Linked DNA regions of Homo sapiens: region 2 is linked to region 1. The links are contacts of gene promoters, found by promoter capture Hi-C in human tissues and cell types (Jung and others, 2019). All regions are on one chromosome and are shown on one strand. The core of a region is centred on a gene start or on the middle of the fragment in contact, and the rest is flanking DNA. Distances in the headings are between cores, read along the strand shown.

Region 1 (5,978 bases), core at 696-3,195:
GTGTGTGTGTGTGTGTGTGTGTGTGTGTGTGTGTGTGTGTGTGTGTGTGTTTAGTAGAGATGGGGTTTCACCATGTTGGCCAGGCTGGTCTCGAACTCCTCACCTCAAGTGATCTACCCGCCTCAGCTTCCCCCCCAGAGTGCTGAGATTACAGGCACGAGTCATGGTGCCAGCCTCATTTCTATTAATTTCTTAAGCAAATCAAGAGCATACATTGTGGCATTGTTTGTAGTGGCAAAAGATTGGAAACAACCTAAATGTCCATCATAGGAAATTCATGAAATAAAACTACCTCATGTATCCAGAGGAATACCATGAAACTGTTGAAGAGAATGGGGACATAGTCCTTGTGTGCTGTGACAAAACGATCTCCACACACAGTATTAAGGGAAAAAAAGTACCTGGCACGGTGGCTCATGCCTGTAATCCCAGAACTTTGGGAGGCCGAGGTGGGCGGATCACCTAAGGTCAGGAGTTCGAGACCAGCTTGACCAATATGATGAAACCCCATCTCTACTAAAAATACAAAAATTAACCAAGTGTGGTGGCATGCGCCTGTAATCCCAGCCACTTGGGAGGCTGAGACAGGAGAATCGCTAGAACCTGGGAGGTGGAAGTTGCAGTGAGCCCACATGGTGCCAGCCTGGGCAACAAGAGTGAAACCCCATCTAAAAAAAAAAAGCAAGGCGCCATTGGGAAGGGGAAGTGGGGCCTGCATGGCTGAATTCAGAGAAGGAAGGGAGTCTTGGTTATCAGATTATCTCTGCAGCTGATCTCCAAACCTATTTCCCTTCTTCCTGGCACAGGGGCCACTCATTTCCCAGACTCTTTTGCATGGAGGCATGGTTGTGTGATTGAAATCCAGCCAGGCGAGCAGGCTCAGCCCACAGAAACCTCCCATGGGCCACCCCCATGCCTTTTCTTCCTCTGGTTTGTGTGGAATGGTGCTGAGCCCCCAGGGCGACTTTGGTGGAATCTGGTGTTGAAATCAGAGTCCCACCGCCGGGCGCGGTGGCTCACGCCTGTAATCCCAGCACTTTGGGAGGCCGAGGCAGGCGGATCATGAGGTGAGGAGATCGAGACCATCCTGGCTAACACGGTGAAACCCCGTCTCTACTGAAAATACAAAAAATTAGCCGGGCGTGGTGGCAGGCGCCTGTGGTCCCAGCTACTCCGGAGGCGGAGGCAGGAGACTGGTGTGAACCCGGGAGGCAGAGCTTGCAGTGAGCCGAGATCGTGCCACTGCACTCCAGCCTAGGCGACACAGTGAGACTCCGTCTCAAAAAAAAAAAAAAAAAAAAGAATAAGCAAATCATGCAAATCATCCTGTTCTAAACTCTGAACCGCTGCTTCCAAGACCGTCCCTGCCCTTGCCCTGGCCGCCTCTCTCCTTGTTAACTGGGCTCCATTCATTCTTTCCATTTCTCTAACACGTGCCAGGTGGTCTCATCTCCTGGCCTTTGCCCTTGCTGTTCCCTGTCATCATTCAGGTCTCACTTGTCATTTCCTGACCATGGTACTTATAAAAGCAGTGCCGTCTGCCCCATCCATGTCACCTCGTTCATCTCCTTCACCTCCGAAATGATCTCGCTTTTGGGTTTACGGCCGGTCTCTTCACCTGGAGCATCAGCCGGGAAGGTCAGGGTCGCCCTGGCTCGGGCCTGTTCACATTGGGGTCAAAGGCACACATTGGGGGCTCAACCAAGGCGAGCTGCGTTCGCGGGGCCGGGTCTTTCCGCACAGGCGGAGGGCGGTGGCGGGCGCGGAGGCGTCGCGCGAGCCAGGGGGCAGCCACGGGCCGGGGGTACCTAGCGCCACCCGCTTCGCTTGCATCAGCTGCGCGCCCCATCCCGAGGAATGGTAGAGGCAGCCCCGCCCCCGGCCCGCCCCCGCCTTTCCATTGGCTGCCGCGCGGGGCGGGGAGCGGGGTCGGCTCAGTGGCCCTGAGACCCTAGCTCTGCTCTCGGTCCGCTCGCTGTCCGCTAGCCCGCTGCGATGTTGCGCGCTGCCGCCCGCTTCGGGCCCCGCCTGGGCCGCCGCCTCTTGTCAGCCGCCGCCACCCAGGCCGTGCCTGCCCCCAACCAGCAGCCCGAGGTCTTCTGCAACCAGGTGAGCCCACCGGCCGGGCTCGCGCTTTGTTTTCCGGCCCGAGTCCCCCGCAGGCCCCTAGGAAGGCCCCGCGCCGCCGTGGGCCTTAGTGTACTCATCTGGGGCTCGAGGGGTTTGCAGAGGCTGACCTGGAAGCACATCTGCCCCCTCCTCTCCTGCAAGCATTTTAGCCCCTTCGCCGCCTCTGACAGTCCCCGTCCCATTTCCCCGTGACTTGGGCCCCCTCTCCGTCTTCGCCCAGCCTCGGTCTGTTTTCCAGGGCCAACTCTCGGGGTTCCGTTCTCCCCATGGTCCTTGCTTTCGGGTCTCCGCAGGGTCCCCACCCTCACCCACTCAGAAGACGCGACCAAGTCCCTCTTTGCAGGAACTTTCCTGTCTTTTCCTTAGTCATCCCCTTTACCCCCTGACTCATGCCCTCATCCAAGGAGTTCAAAAGGAAAAACCAGGAAAGAGGTGATTTGCAGCCACGTTCTCCAGTTCACCATGGGCGAGGCCACGCTCGGCTGCTTCCATTGCTGGGAGTAGGGAATCCTGGAGGACCTTCGGCCCCAGGGGGCCGACCCCAAGGGGTGTCTGCGGCTTCCAACGCCGGCTTCGACCAAACCAAGGAGGAGCTTTCCAGGATAAAACTGATTCCTGTGGTCCATTTATTGATTGCTCAATCAGTAATACTTTGGAATATTTTTTGTTTTGATCTTTGAGTTTGGTTAAAGTTCTAGACTTCACAGAGGCTGAAATTGGTTATGAAAGAGTTTGTTTTGTTTGTGCCAGTGCATGTTGGCTGCCTTCTCTGACTTAAGCTTTTTCTCCTATAAATGGAAAGGCGCTCTGAGGGTTAGGTTCACACAGGCCCTCATCAACCAGTCACTTCATAGTTAATCACAGCTCCTGTCCTGTCTGCACAGCCTTTGTGCAGCACTGTTCTAAGCGTCTACCTGTTTTGCAATTTAAGGTAATTTTTACAACAGCCTCAGTAGGAAGGGACTGTAATTCTCCATTTTACAGATGAAGAGACTGAGTCACAAAGAGGTTTAGTGACTCACCTAAAGACCAAAGTCAGTGGCATAGTTGGGGTTCACAGCTGAACTTCCAGGAGTAAGCCCCTAACCAGAACATTCCATGGTATGTTGTGACTCTGGGTGGGAACAAAGGGACCACCGATCCTCTGGGACTATTGCTGATTTGGGATGCTGTAGAGCTGGCTCCTAGCCAGCTGCTTTCAACAGCACACCTGCTGGTCTGGCCCTGAGTGTGGCTGCAAATCTGGATATAGGTGATGGGTAAAGGCACATGCGTGTGATTTTAGGGGATGTTACAAAGGTCATTTGCAAGGGAATTTTTAAAAGGATAAAATAAAATCTTTTGCATAACACAAGCTAAAAAGGCAGCAGCTATGGCTCCCTTGGCAGCCTGTGCAAGTTCATGCTTGGAAGACTTGAGCATCAAAAGATCTAGCAGAGGCCAGGTGCAGTAGCTCATGCCTGTAAATCCCAGCATTTTGGGAGGCCGAGGTGGGATGATCCGTTGAGCCTAGGATTTCGAGACCAGCCTGGGCAACATAGCAAGACCCTGTCTCTAGTCTCTACTAAAAAAGTAAATTAGTTAGGTGCGGTGGCACATGCCTGTAGTCCCAGCTATATGGGAGGCTGAGGTGGGATGATCCCTTGAGCCTAGGATTTCGAGACCAGCCTGGGCAACATAGCAAGACCCTGTGTCTAGTCTCTACTAAAAAAGTAAATTAGTCAGGTGCGGTGGCACATGCCTGTAGTCCCAGCTATATGGGAGGCCGAGGTGGGAGGATCACTTGAGCCTAGGAGTTCGAGGCTGCAGTGAGCTATGATTGGGCCACTACACTTAGTCTGAGCAACAGAACAAGACCCTGTCTCAGAAATGTCCTCAAGGAACAGCCATCGCCCTAGGAACCCTTCTGGCCACAGGATCTGATTAAAATCTTTATCCTTTATCACATGCAGATGAGGCAGCTGGGTCCAGATATGCACCCAGGCCCATAGGTAACACATCCTGTTCTCCAGATTTACTCTGTGGGTGTAGGCTGGAGGAGCCGAGTCAATTCCCTGTGGCTGCTTTTCTTTATCAGACTTTTTGAGATCATTAAAGTAACACATGCCCACTGTATAAAATTGCAGAGGACTGACTTACAACTCTCTGGACATGGTCAGTCAAGGTGATTCATGCCTGTAATTCCAGCACTTTGGGATGCCAAGGTGGGAAGATCGCTTGAGATTAGATGTAAGGCTGCAGTGAACTATGATTGTGCCACTGCACTCCAGCCTGGGCAATGGAGCAAGAACCCATCTCTTAAAAAATAAATAAATAAATAAACCTCTCTGGATACCCCATTTTACTCCCTCCAAGAGCACTGTGAACAGGTGGGTGTGTCTCTTGTAGACATTTTGTTTGCATTTACAAGTGCCTGCAGCAAGAGAGAGAGAGAGAGAATGCAAGCACACCAGACTTTTTTTTTTTTTTAACATAAATGAGATGCAACCACTTATATTCTGAAGCTCGCCGTCTCACTGAACAATGTACCTGGGTTATCATTCTGAGTACGTTCAGATCTCATTTAACCCTTTCCAAGGACCACAGAGCATTCTACTCTGGTGGCGCCGTGCTGGAACTGGACCTCTTAGAGCCCCCTGGGCTGTTTGCAGTGTGGCCTTATTGCTGACTCAGCAGGGAAGAGGGATGGTGCATACAGCAGTGGACTCTGCACCTCAGCTGCCTCATCTGTAAAATGGGGTAAAATGGCTGGGTGCAGTGGCTCACACCTGTAATCCCAGCATTTTGCAAGACTGAAGCAGGCGGATCACGAGGTCAGGAGTTCGAGACTAGCCTGGCCAACATAGTGAAACCCTGTCTCTACTGAAAATACAAAAATTAGCTGGGCATGGTGGCGCGCACCTGTAATCCCAGCTACTTGGGAGGCTGAGGCAGGAGCATCACTTGAACCTGGGAGGCAGAGGTTGCAGTGAGCCGAGATCACACTACTGCATTCCAGCCTGGGTGACAGAGCGAGACTCCATCTCAAAAAAAAAAAAAAATGTGGGGGGTAAAATTCCATCTGCATCACCGAATTGCTGTGAGGACCAAATGGGGTGAGGCTTCTGCAGCCACAGGCAGTGCTGGCTTCATGGCCACTGGTGCCTCCATATTGACTGCAGCCTTAAGCAGGAGCTGGGATAACAGTGACGCTGTGGACTTGCAGTGTCTTGGTGATCAAACTCCATTTGATATGGATGCTGTTGTATTTGCAGTTTGTTTCCTGAAGGGGTGAGCTAGATTGTGGTAAAGTAGAATGGGAGTTTGGGGTGAATTAAAACTTGCATCTTTATTCTTACCCTCTCTTTCTGTTTTTGTTTTTGTTTTGAGACAGGGTCTCTCACTGTTGCCCAGGCTGGAGTGTAGTAGTGCTCACTGCAGCCTCAACCTCCCAGGCTCAGTCAACAAGTTATCCTCCTACTTCAGTCTTCCAAGTAGCTGAGACTACAGGCATACCCCACCACACCTGACTAATTTTTGTATTTTTTATTTTATTTTATTTATTTGAGACAGACTCTTGCTCTGTTGCCCAGGGTGGAGTGCAGTGGTGTGATCTTGGCTCACTCTAACCTCCACCTCCTGGGTTCAAGCGATTCTCCTGCTTGAGCCTCCTGAGTAGCTAGGATTACAGGTGCCCACCACCACGCCTGGCTAATTTTTTTGTATTCTTAGTAGAGATGAGGTTTCGCCATGTTGGCCAGGCTGGCTGGTCTTGAACTCCTGGCCTCAGGTGATCCACCTGCCCTGGCCTCCCAAAGTGCTGGGATTAAGGCACTGCAGCCAGCCAATTTTTTATAATTTTTATAGAG
Region 2 (5,875 bases), core at 1,859-4,358, 310 kb before region 1:
TGCCTCTACTCGGTCCAAGTATCTTCCACTGCAAGTGAACTGTTAGCATTCCTATTGGATGTTACAAGAAATCAACATATATATTTTAAAAACAAAATAAATGAAATTCTAGTTTTCTGTGCTTCCAGTTGGTAGAAGCAGTAGAAGGGAGGAGGGAATTTGGCCTTTCGGTTCCTCCAGGGCAGCCTTACAACTGCTGTTGGTGGTGGGCTTGTACTGTAAAAAGAAAAGCGAACATTGAAACAGAAAACTGGCAACACCACACATCAGCCTAGTGTCTCTGCAGCACATGATTGTAAACTATCCTCGTGCTAGCTGAACAAAACTCAAAATTGAATTCGCTTTTCCCCCTCCCATCTGCACCAAAGTGGGGAGGGTTGGGTGGGTGGGTAGAAACAAACCAGTCAGACGTAAAACCACTTCAGATAAAACTCCCAGAAGACTTGTTCATGGGGTAGAAAAAAAGGCCTTAACAAACCCCCTCCCCAAATATTAGCCAAGCACCAGTATTGCTTTCAGAATAACAGGTCAGACTGTGAAGTATCGCCATGGCAGCCATCAAGTAGTAGAGCACAATCACAGGGCGCTCTCCCCTGTTCAGGGGCTGGGGCTAACGCTACACTCAAAGCCAGTCCATCCACAGCGCTTTCTCAGCAGTATCTTCTCCAGAGCTACAATCAAACTCTGCCATGGTAATAACCCCCCACATGTCAGACTTTTGGGACTCAGGAAGGAAAACACTGCCCTGTCCAGCCTGTCATAACAAGGAAGGCCAACTGAGTCCTAGGCATGCATCAGGCTGCTGTTGCTGCTGCTGCTGCTTCTCATCAAGCCAAATCCTGTATACCATCAGAACACACACAGACTCGGCTCCCGGAAGCCTCAGGCCCTGATGCTGAACTGATCGTCACAGTCCCTCCTGTGCACACTCCTGGACGGGTCTTGCTAGTTCTCAAATGCGGGGCTTGAAGCACTGGCCCTGCCTGCCATTCCACCTGTGCGAGCAGAATGCTTTGGGGTGCCCCGGCGGCCCCTGCACACACACGCCTCACCTGAAGGGTGCGTCATATAGGGGAAATGCGCTGTTGTCGAGACTGGAATGGGCTGTAGTGCACTTTGAGCGAGGGCGGCCTGGGGACCGCCGGGTGGCTGTGTCGTCATTAGCATCATTGGCGCATGGGCAGTTGGATGAGAAGGAACCATTCCTGACTGTACATGAGCCTGAAACAGAGAGCTCTTTTACGCATACAGGCAACATCTCCGGCTTCAACAACATGTCAACTGTGTTCCTTTCACTGGGCTGGGACTCTCAGGAAAGGGCAACGGTGGGCCTCAGGGCCCAGTTCTGTTCTCTGGGGACAATCTCTAGTAGATTATCTATTGACCTGAAGACGCGCTTCACCTTTGGGCAGATCCTGCAAGGGTCAGGGAGCAGGCAACAAGTGAGCCTGGGTAGAAGTCAGGGCTGTGCTGTCCTAACCCTTGACATTTCTGATCATTGTATTCTATGTATGGGGTAAGATCTTCACAAAGATTAGACACTGGATCCAAGGGCAGCTTTCTCAACTTAATATCATACAAGATTCAATGATGCTTCAGAATCAGGCTGCCATGTGGGGCCTGAGGTAGTTTTGCAGATAACATCCCTTTCAAATAGGAAAACAGATTACATTAATAAGCAGAGACTGTCACAGTCAAGTATGTGAATTACTTGGACCTCTGTTCATTTGCCTCTCTCCCTCTGCTTCTGGTCTGCTCACCAGGCAGTGAAAAGAGACTCTTAGGCCCCCGTGACTCTCTCAGAGATATGCTGATGGAGCAGGAGGAGGAGGAGGAGTTGGAGTTTTTAATGGCTCCAGTGAGATGGAAAGGAGTAACCTGAAGTCATCTGGGCCAGCCCAGCGTCTCTGTACCAAGTTCAACCTGGTCTCACTCACTGTCAAGTTGGAAAGGTGATTTTAGTCAGCCCAAACAGCTGGATTCCAGCTCTGCAGGGGGTTGGCAGGGCCAGGAAGAGCCCTTGTTTCCTTTTTCCCACACTGTGCACTGTTCTAGACTACGATAAGCCTTGGATGAAATGCCGTTTTTACTCTCACATATTCAAACGGGCACATGGCAAATTTGAGCTTCCCTGTGTTAACCTTTTTGCCCTTTCAGCACAAAAACAGAGTGAGGTTTTAGGGATCCCTGACTTACATGTAAGTTCACATGCCTACTTAGCCACCAGCCTCTGGTAGACACCTACAGGACCCCAGCTCTTATGAAGCTGACTCCACCAAACCACGCTGGCCCACACGGACCAAACCGGCTTCCCTCCCCACTATCAAAAAGCAAATCAACTGCAGTGCGCTACACCACAGAACCTAAACTTTGCAGGGTGAGGACGCCCAAACTTCCCAGAGCTGTGGAACTCTACTTACAAGGTAGCCTTCTGAGAGATAGATCCAACTGAGTCGCATCTCTAGCCCACACCTTGCCAGAGCCTCACTGGCGCACTATTTAACAGGAAATGGAATTCATTGTGGCAGGTCTCACTTAGACCCGCCTCAGAGAGTTCTGTTATGAAAGTAGCAGAGACATCTAATACAGCCAATTCACCCGTAACAGCCCCAGGGAGGGCCTCAAGGCCAGCGTTAGAGCCCAACTTCAGTGCAGCTCCTTCTCCTCATTAAGACAATCCCCTGGGCCCTGGAGTGCAGGGACCTTTGTCAGCAGCTGATGCAGACAGCAACCACTGAGATGGCAAGCACACCTTTCACCTGTAGCAGCTTACACTGGAGGTGAGCTCCAAAGTGCTTCCAGGGCTGCTCTTAAAGAAAAATGGGACCACCTGGGTGCTTCCAGCTTCTAGTTACACTGCACCAATGTCCAAGGCCAAGCCCTCTCAAGAGTACAACTTATGGTCAAAGCAGATATATGGATAACCAGGGAAAACAATTGGAGAGATGTGTCTGGAACTCATGTGAGTAACAATCAAGTTGACAGGCCCCGGTAGTCACTTCGGAGAGCTGAGACTCTGTGAAGGCCATCATCCCTGCCTGGCTTCCAAGGTAAGTGTGTAGGGGAATATATATGTACACATATATATAGTAGTGAGGCTATATAGACATAGCAAAGCAGACACAGAAAGGAAAGAAGGACTGGGTTGCATTCCAGAGTCAAAGATATTTTTAAGGTCTCAGTTGGAAAACTAAAGGACTGACCAATCAGCACCTTCACTGATCCCATGACAAAACCACACAAACATTCCCTTAGGGCCAGATCACGTGTATTTGAGAGGGAAAGGGAGACAGGCAAATGGCATGACACACAGGGTTTCCTAGCTGGGAGAGCCTCTAGCTGCTTACTGATAACCTTCACATTCTACTTGGCCTTCACAGAAAGTTGGCTAAAGCTGGTATTACCTGAGGTACGTGGGCCATGTGGGGTGGGTTGGTATACGCCGGCTGAACGTGAGAAGGATGGATCGTAAAGACAGTCTGTTGTGCTGCTGGGAAACTATTCTGTGGCGACTGCGTGTTGGAGGCAGGTGTCATGGAGGGTGGAGTTGGCGCAAGCCCCGCGTGGTAAATGGCTGACTGCTGCTGTGGACTGGCCAGATGGAGAGCCTGGGCGGCCTGGTGCTGATGGTGCTGCAAAGCGACAGGAAAGAATTGAGAGGAAAACTTCTTTAATGAAAAGCAGCCAAGGGATACCCACAAAGCTAAGCTTTGCACACTTGGGCCTATGATGAGGGTCACTGGAAAGTACAGGAGAATGTACAGGGTGGTAAGAGCAAGGCTGGAGGTGCCTCCCATCTGGACAACTCCTTTCTAGGGTACAGAAGCCTGATTCTCAGTCTGGCAGTTAGAAACTTCTGAGCATACATACTAAAGTCAAAAAAGACTACTGCCCCAGGGAACTGATAGATATCAAAGACATCTTTAACTGCCTCCATTAGCAAACATAATTCAAGAAGCTCATAGGAAAATAACCTCATCACATAAACCTTAGAAATTAAAAAGTCCCAAGCAAATAGGAATTTGCCTTATGAACTTTATGTTAAATTTGATTTTTCATTACTGCAAGTTTCCAGAGCTTATCCAATCACCTTATTATCAACATGTATCTTAAATGTGATTTTTTTTAATTTTTTATTTTTTTGAGACAGAGTCTCGCTGTTGTCCAAGCTGGAGTGCAGTGGCGCGATCTCTGCTCACTGCAAGCTCCGCCTCCCGGGTTCACGCCATTCTCCTTCCTCAGCCTCCCGAGAAGCTGGGACTACAGGCGCCCACCACCACGCCCGGCTAATTTTTTTGTATTTTTATTAGAGACGGAGTTTCACAGTGTTCGCCAGGATGGTCTCAATCTCCTGACCTCGTGATCCACCCGCCTCGGCCTCCCAAAGTGGTGGGATTACAGGCGTGAGCCACTGCGCCCAGCCTTTAAATGTGATTCTTAAAACCACCACCCCAGGGGCACAGCTGTATCCATCTTCACGAGGGTGGACATGCCATGTGTTCTGACGATGCGATACCTGGCACCTGAAGAAAGCACTCAGATACTAGGATAAAGAAGCCACTCCATGCAGACCTCTGAGTTGCCCTTACCTGAACAGGACTGGGTGCAGGATGACTTCCACCATGTTGGCTTTGCTGCTGTCCAGTGGGGGTAGCTGAAGGCTGAGGGTGTGGAGTATGTGGGTGCAGGGTAGCGTTAGGGTGCGCATACTGCTGAGCAAGGGAGCCCGTGGAAACTAAAGTGAAAGAAAAAGGAGCATGTACACAACCGATGTCTGACAACCTCCATCGCTCCTCTACACTTCATCAACTGAACTTTCTTGATGGTTACAATGCATAACTCACGCCACTACCAATTTCTATAGATGACTCCATTTAAACCATCCATTGTCTTGAAAAAATAAGTGTAGCTATTGCTTAACAGACTAGCATTTGGTTCATATAATACAGCTCTACATATGATATTAAAATCAAATTAGTTTGCATTTACTCTTAACGGTCACTAGGTTTTCCCAAAAAGGCAACTTGAAGGCATAGGCAGAAACTACTCAAACAAGTGCATTTTAGGTGCACACTCTTTAGCTCAAGGCCATCATCAGGCTAACCTCACCATGCTACTGCCCTGGAGCAATGTCCTGAGGGCACAGACTATATTGGGTGTGGTGGGGGATGGGGGTGCGGGCACTGTGTATGGTATGTGGCAAGGCCAGGGATCTATCATCAGGGCCGAAGGACCACAGTCTCTCTCAGCTAATCACAGGAGCCCTTCTGCCACTCAGTTTACTTTCCCAAGCCCTAATGGAGGATCTCCCATCTTTGCTTTATGAAATAAATATAGAAAAGTAAACTCCCTTCTGAGTGCCCCAGCCCTTTGGAAAGAAATTTACTAGACTAACTTCAAAGGACAACATGATGGGCCAGTTTAAATCAAAATAAAGATAAGAACTGAAAGCCAGTTCTTTGTGAATCTCAGCGTGGGCCAAACCTTGGTACAAAAACCATTTCTTCATGTCTTTCAGTTTTTTGTTTTTTGTTTTTTTTTGAGATATAAGTCTCACTCACTCTGTTGCCCAGGCTCACTGCAACCTCTGCCTCCCAGGTTCAAGCAATTCTCCTGCCTCAGCCTCCCGAGTAGCTGAGATTACAGGCATGTGCCACCACGCCCAGCTAATTTTTGTATTTTTAGTAGAGATGGGGTTTCGCCATGCTGGCCAGGCTGATCTCAAACTCCTGACCTCAAATGATCCGCCCACTTCAGCCTCCCAAAGTGCTGGGATTACAGACGTGAGCCACCGTGCCTGGCCTGTTCATGTGCTTCAAAAACAGTAAGTTGAGAATCAGAAGCAGAGTAGGATGTGTTCACTGCTTCCAGTGAC

The links. The method cuts DNA at HindIII sites, captures the fragments that hold promoters and counts their contacts. A contact is called where the count stands out against the background at its distance.
Region 2: a fragment that was not itself captured here is called in contact with the fragment with the promoter of ALDH2 in region 1 in 1 of the 25 tissues and cell types used here (dorsolateral prefrontal cortex).

The regions. Positions count from the first base shown.
Region 1 is chr12:111,764,988-111,770,965 of GRCh38, forward strand. ALDH2 (aldehyde dehydrogenase 2 family member) reads left to right here and starts at 1,946. Exons shown (of 13, transcript NM_000690.4): 1 at 1,946-2,109. The coding sequence starts at 1,996. RefSeq lists an enhancer at 1,405-2,174 and a silencer at 1,634-1,953. The HindIII fragment of the contact is 11,183 bases long and covers 1-4,579 here.
Region 2 is chr12:111,452,625-111,458,499 of GRCh38, forward strand. It overlaps ATXN2 (ataxin 2), which reads right to left. Exons shown (of 25, transcript NM_001372574.1): 22 at 4,590-4,735; 23 at 3,405-3,632; 24 at 1,053-1,221; 25 at 1-216. The coding sequence ends at 188. Among named protein-coding and RNA genes, the nearest start is that of SH2B3, 50 kb to the left of the region's middle. The HindIII fragment of the contact is 9,101 bases long and covers 1-5,875 here.